2 separate regions of the Homo sapiens genome follow, and region 2 is linked to region 1. Evidence: promoter capture Hi-C in human tissues and cell types (Jung and others, 2019). All regions are on one chromosome and are shown on one strand. The core of a region is centred on a gene start or on the middle of the fragment in contact, and the rest is flanking DNA. Distances in the headings are between cores, read along the strand shown. Region 1 holds the start of WFDC8 (WAP four-disulfide core domain 8). Region 2 has its middle 9.6 kb from the start of WFDC11.

Region 1 (3,572 bases), core at 975-3,474:
ATCTCTACTAAAAATACAAAAAAATTAGCCAGGCGTGGTGGTGCGTGTCTGTAATCCCAGCTATTCAGGAGGCTGAGGCAGGAGAATCACTTGAACCCGGGAGAAGGAGGTTGCAGTGAGTTGAGATAGTGCCACTGCACTCCAGCCTGGGGAACAGAGCGAGACTCCATCTCAAAAAAAAAAAAAAAGACTATTCTGAGAATTTGTAACTGCAACCTTGTTTCCTTTCATAAGAGCAGAGTAGGAAAATTGGCACATGTGCATGGTCTGATAAATCTAAAGCTATGAATTTAATTCAAAATTGCATGAGTTGTTAGGGAAAAATTGAGGACAAGTTGATTCGGAAGAATTCTCCTTTAAACACAGGAATCCAAGAAATTCCACAAAGTATTGTTACATACATAAACTTCCATTAAATATGTACTCTCACAATAAAAAAAATCACACAGATCTTAAGAAAACAAGATGAAAAAAATCAAGAAAAACAACCAACAGCAGAGGTCCACAAAGACTTCAGATATTGGAGTTACTGTATTGTATTGTAGCGAGTTATTGTATTGTAGGAAAGGAACATAGAAAAAGGATTCCTGATTCTGTCTTTGGGGTAGGAAGGGCACGTGATAAAAACTTTCATTCAAAAGGTAAAAGACAAGCCAATAAGGGTTTTAGAAGATTACCCTTGATCCTGGAAGATGTTCATAATACATATAACTGAGGAAAGACATGACTCCAGTAGAAATCAGCAAGAAAAAGTCAGAAAACCCCAGAGAACAATGAGCAAAACATTTGAAAAGAAAATCAAAGAGAGGATAGCCAAGTGGTTAATAAAGATCTAAAAAGGTGCTCAACCTCATTAGTAGTCAAGAAATTTAAATTAAGTCCACAGTGATGTATTTCCATACTCGTAGCAGGATGGTAAAAATGAAAAGATTGTGACAGTTCTACATACAGCATGGTTATGGAACAATAGGAACTCTCAACTACCAATGGCAAGGCTGTGAATTGGTACAAACTCTTTGGGAAATAATTTGGTATCAGCTTGAGAAGCTGAAGATATGCATACCCTGTAACCCATCATTCCCTATGCTGAATGTATAACCTACAAGAACACCTGCCCACGTGCTCCAGCAAATGCACACAGAGTGTTCATAGCAGCTTTATTCTTTTTTTTACATGAGTAAATTGTTTAAAATTTTTTTGACATTTAAAAACATTTATTAATTCATTTAACGTAATAAACTTATTACATGTTGATATAAATAACATTTTTATTTAGAAAATCCTAGTTTTTTATTATACTTTAAGTTCTGGGATACACGTGCAGAACGTTATTACATACATGCTATGTATACACACAGCAGCTTTATTCTTAACAGCTGCAAACTATAAACAACTCAGTAGAGATGTGTGTAGTCATACAATAGATGGCATGGCAATGAAAATTGACAAAATACAGCTACACAAAACAATGTGGATGGAATTCATTAATATAATGTTGAACACAAAAAGCCAGGCACAAAAGAATACATTCCAAGTGACTCCATTGATATAGAACAGAAGCAGACAAAAACAAAAACATATTTAGGGGAATACATATGATCTTGAAAATATGAAAAAGAAAGTCACTACCATTAGCTGCCTTTGAGAGCATAGGAAGGGGTTGTGACTGGAAAAGAATGAAAAAGGAGCAGAAAGTGTTGGAAATTTTTTACTTGATTTCAGTGATAGTTTAATGAGTGGTCACTTCGTAATAGTTCGTTAGACTGAACATTAATGTTTCATGCATATTTTTATTTTTGTGGTGTTTTTCACAATACATATTTTTACAAAAAGGAAAAGTAGCTCTTCCTTGTTTTGTCTCCTTTTCTTTACTAACTGAACTAGTCAGTCCTAAAGCCATTAGATAGGCACATTTAGCAAGGTAGGCGTTTGCCCCAAGGGGAAGGGAGCCACGGCTGGCTCCGTGTGGGCATCAGAGCTGGAACAGGTCAAGGAGGGTGTCTCTGTAGGAGGGCTGCTGGCCTGGTGTGCTGGAGCCAGGGGTAGATGAGAATGCCCAGTGAAGAGGCAAGAAGCAGCATAGCATGGAGACCAGCCTGCCCATGTTGAGAAAGGCATCCCCCTGGGGCTAGAGGGGCAGACTGGCATAGAATGAGAGCCTGAGTGGGGTGAGCAGAGTGTCCAGGCAGGGGAGCAGATGAGGGAGGAGCCTTAGAGCTGGAGCAAAGTGAGGAAGCTGTCTCCATAGGGAAGAGGCCTGATGTGGACTGTCCGAACTGAAGGAGGGTGAGGAGGGTGTCTATGGGGGTGGGTAGCCAGACATGGAGGGTCTGAGCCCAAGGAGATGAGGAGGATACATAGAAGTTAGAGTGGTCGGCTGTGGGGAGTTGGGCCAAGCATAGTGAGGAGGGGTTCCACAGAACAGAGCTGTCTTGTGTCAGGAATCAGAGCCTAAGCAGGGTGAAGAGGGCATCAATGCATCCAGCGATTCTCCTGCCTTAGCCTCCCTAGTAGCTGGGACTACAGGTGTGCGCCACCACGCTCGGCTAAGTTTTGCATTTTTAGTAGAGACGGGGTTTCACCATGTTGGCCAGGCTGGTCTCGAATGCAACCTGATATGGCTGTTGGAGCCCAAGTAGGGTAAGTTGGGCATCTTTGAGTGGCCCAGTGTGGAGGGGCAGAGCCTGAGCAAGGTAAAGTTTGATATTTTAAATTAAACAAGCATATAATATGTATCTAAACATTTTCAAAAAATTAAAACAGGAGTAGTAGTGATGGGTTATATTATTATTCACAACTATTCATTCCATCTTTCCTTTAAGAGGACACTCCTGTCCATTACCTTGCAATTTTAGAACGGCCCGTGGAAGGAAGACACATTTCTGTCTCATTGACTTTGGGTTTGCTGTCAGCTGTGCTTTGCCTATTGGAGTATGAGCAGATGTAGCATATGCATAGTGAGTTTTGCACTGTGAGTTTCTGCCAGCTCCTTTGTGCTTTCTCTCTGCCAGGAGAAGGGGCCTAATCCACATAGAGGCTGCTTCTTTTGTCTTGGTCCCACAGCCTCAAGTAGAGCCCCCACTTGGAACAAAGCAGTAGACAATTTGCCTAGGAAGTCTTTTGTTGTGGCAAGCCATGGAGAGCTCAAAGTTCTTTGTACACCAAAGTAATAAAAATACAGTTGATTCCCATTACTTGGGGGTAGTTATGTTCTGTAAAGTCACTGTGAACACCGGATTAGCAAATACTGAGCCATTGCTCCTAGGGAAAATGCAAGCCTCTGACCACACATTTTCATCATTTGATCAATACATAACCTTGTTTTTATATGTGCTTCTGTCTGAAGACACATGACAGAGATGGTAATTAGAAGGTGCACACAGAAGACTTCTGGGAAGCTGGCTACTTTCTATTTTTTAATCTGTGTGGTTAATTATTAAATAAAACTCTACATACTTTATTTATTTATTTATTTTTATTTTTATTTTTTTTGTTTTGTTTGAGAGGGAATCTCTCTCTGTCCCCCAGGCTGGAGCATAGTGGTGTGATCTCGGCTCTCTGCAACCTCCACC
Region 2 (3,505 bases), core at 393-2,892, 100 kb before region 1:
CTCCCAGCTTTAGGAGCAGAGAGGACTATGCATATGAGAATCTCTCTAGACAACAGACAAGAGTGGTAGGTTTATACAGGTGCACACGTATTTCTGGGGGTTTCAAACTCTTGGAGTGGTACAGAAAAGGGGCTTAAAAATGCAGCTCCCTGTTACTCCCTGTAAGGGGTTTATGCCATGCATTGAGTGGCCCAACTTTTACAGCAGCTACCACCTGAAACTATGCATACTCAAGTCTTCCCAGATCACATACAAAAAGGTTTTTTTGTTTGTTTGTTTGTTTTTTAAACAGAGTCTCACTCTGCCACCCAGACTGGAGTGCAATGGCATAATCTTGGCTCACTGCAACCTCCACCTCCCGGGTTCAAGCGGTTCTCCTGTCTCAGCCTCCCAAGTAGCTGGGACTACAGGCATGCACCACCACATCTGGCTAATGTTCTGTATTTTTAGTGGAGACAGCGTTTCACCATGTTGGCCAGGCTGGTCTTGAACTCCTGACCTCAAGTGACCCACCCACTTCAGCCTCCCAAAGTACTGGGATTACAGGCTGAGCCATTGCACCCAGCCAAAAAGGTGGTTTTAAATGGACATAATAACACTGCCAGGGTCTACATCTCCTGGGAGCAGTGTAGAAAAGGGACTAGAATGCTGAGCTCCCATTTTCTCTTTGCAAGGGGTTTCCTGCTTACTCTATTGGTGGCTACTTGATGACCTTGCTTTTAATGAATTTGCATTGAGGACCTAAGGGGAGAAAGTAGCTCCCTGTCATCCTGAGCTTGAGCTGAGCACTTTCTGAGCCTTTCCTTTGGCTCATCCCAGTGATAAATCCAGTCGACCCATTCTTCCTGGAAGGAGTTTGTCCGTGTACTGAGTACCTAAGCTTCTATAGTTTCCACCCAAGGGACTGTCTCCTTATCAACCTAGCTCTGGGGACTAATGGGGCTTTGCATTCCCAATGAGACTTTGCATTCCTAAGCGGCCTGGGACTACAGAAAACAAAGACATGGGCATACAACGGGCCCACTTTCAGCATGTATTAGTCCATTCTCTCATTGCTATAAATAAATACTCAAGATTGCATAATTTATAAAGAAAAGAGGTTTAATTGGCTCATGGTTCTATGGGCTATACAGGAAGCATGGCACTATCTGCTTCTGAGGAGGCCTCAGGAGCTTTTACTCATGGCAGAAGACAAAGCCAGAGCAGGCATCTTCACATGGCTGGAGGAGGAGCGGGGTGAGGGATGTACTATATACTTTTAAACAACCACATCTCACTCACTATCATGAGAACAGCACCAAAGAGATGATGTTAAACCATTCATGAAGGATTTACCCCCGTGATCCAATCACCTCTCACCAGGTCCACCGCCAACATTGGGGATTACAACTTGACATGAGATTTGGATGGGGACACAGATTCTAACCATATCAAGCAGCTATCTCACCAGGATCAGAGGGTGCAGTTTGGACACAAGTATAGGCATTTGTCACAGATTATCTCTCCAGCTTAGTGCAGAGAGAGGGAGAGATAAATACTGGCATTCACCTTCACCATAGGATGGAAGAAACCAGAATACTCACCACCCTCCCCCTGCCATACATGCAAAAAGACAGAGAAAGTTTTAAAAACAGTGAGGAAATAGTGAATTGCTACACACAAGAGAACCCTCCCTTAGATTATCAGCAGATTTCTCAGCAGAAACTTTGTAGGCCAGAAGGGGGTGGGATGTTATATTAAAAATCCTGAATAAAACAACCCTGTCAACCAAGAATACTATACCCAGAAATCTTTTCTTTCAAAAATGAAGGGGTGATAAAGACTTTCTCAGACAAACAGAAGCTGAGAGAGTTTATTACTACTAGACTTGCCTTACAAGAAGTGCTAAAGAGAGTTCTTCAAGCTGAAGAAGAGGACACTAATTAGTGACTGGAAAACATATGAAAGTATAACATTCACTGATAAAAGTAAATACATTGTGAAATCCAAAATACTCTGATACTGTAATGTCAGTGGGTAAATAAATTATATCTTTAATAACATTAAAAGGCAAAGCTATTAAAAACAATGAAACCTACAATAATTTGTCAAGGGATACAAATTATAAAAAGATGCAGATTGTGATATCAAAAACTTAAGACAAATTTTCTCTTCTCTGAGGCTAGCTTGACTTCTCTTTGTTCTGCGTTCCACTGTTACCTAAAGAGTGTCCTTAGTGCCTGCCTCACAGCCCAGCACAAGGATATGAGCTGCAGAGAGTGACAATACAAGAAAGGCTACTCTGTGGATATGTCTCTGGTGCAAGAGCTGGTTTGCCCTGTCCTGGAGAATTTTCCCAGGATGGGGAAAGCCATGTGCTTCTTAATCCATCCCTGATACCTCAGGACTAAACTGGGAAGTGATGTCAGCAAGATGGCAGAATAGATCTCCTGGGATCACTTCCTGACACAAAAATAAAATGAAAAACTATTCAAAGACAAGAATGCCACCCTGAATACACCAGAACTTGAGAAGCAGAGAAACCCCCTGGGCTCATAGAATTGAGAGAAGCAGTGACAGGTAAGAGAAATGGTCATTTCAGCCTGTTCCACCCTCTCTCCCAGGCCATAATAATACCACTCACAGAGAACTTCCCTAGACCCACAGTTGCTGAGATGAGAAGAAGGAATTGGAGGTGGATATTTGATCTTCCCACTTGTCTAGGAATCTTAATGGTAAGTCCACTCCAGTTTCATCCCACTAGAGAACCAAGAGGGCTGAAAAACCTGGGGTGAATTGGGGACAAAGAGTAGGTCACTGATTGCAGCAACTGGCATGTGGATCTTGGTGATTGTTCAGTGCTTTGATCAGTGGGGATGCCATATTGAAGAGACTGGTGGGGGGGCCAGAGTATTGTAGGGGACAAAATTTATGGGAAGGCCCAAATCCACAAAGCCCAGGTGCACATGTGAAGCTTTTCCCTGGCCCAGAAACAACTAAAAGGTCAAGATTTTCAGTACCCACCTAAGTTTTTCCCACACTGAGAAACAATAGTAGGGCAGCAATATTGTTCCAGGGCATTTAAGCTGTGGTGCTCACTATAAGTTTTCCTTACACTGGGAAACAATGACAGGGCAATGAGTTAGGTCCAGTGCAATGTTTTAGTTCTGATGCTCACTATTAAGCCCTCTCTACAGTGTAAAGCAACAACAGGCCAGTGTTTAAGTTCTAATACTAAGAAGTAAAGGTCTAACACCATGAAAGAGCACCTGCAAAAGCTGGAAGAGTTGGCAGTCGCCTCAAATATGCAGGCATCCATGTAAAGATACAAGGCTTGTGAAAACTCAGAAATATTCAATACCATCAAAAGAAATCAACAAAGCTCCAGGAATGGTCCCAGAAGAATTGAAGATTTATAGAAACAATGAAAAAAAAAACCAAGCAATAGAAATAGAAATACTAGTAATAAAGAATAAAATAATTGAACTGAAAAACTCATTATAAAGCTTCAACAGCAGACTTGAGC

The links. The method cuts DNA at HindIII sites, captures the fragments that hold promoters and counts their contacts. A contact is called where the count stands out against the background at its distance.
Region 2: a contact is called between a fragment that was not itself captured here and the fragment with the promoter of WFDC8 in region 1, in 6 of the 25 tissues and cell types used here (H1 embryonic stem cells, bladder, dorsolateral prefrontal cortex and 3 more).

The regions. Positions count from the first base shown.
Region 1 is chr20:45,577,936-45,581,507 of GRCh38, reverse strand. It overlaps WFDC8 (WAP four-disulfide core domain 8), which reads left to right and starts at 2,224. Exons shown (of 6, transcript NM_130896.3): 1 at 2,224-2,286. The coding sequence starts at 2,261. RefSeq lists an enhancer at 2,474-3,409. The HindIII fragment of the contact is 18,093 bases long and covers 1-3,572 here.
Region 2 is chr20:45,678,091-45,681,595 of GRCh38, reverse strand. No RefSeq gene overlaps it. Among named protein-coding and RNA genes, the nearest start is that of WFDC11, 9.6 kb to the right of the region's middle. The HindIII fragment of the contact is 5,827 bases long and covers 1-3,505 here.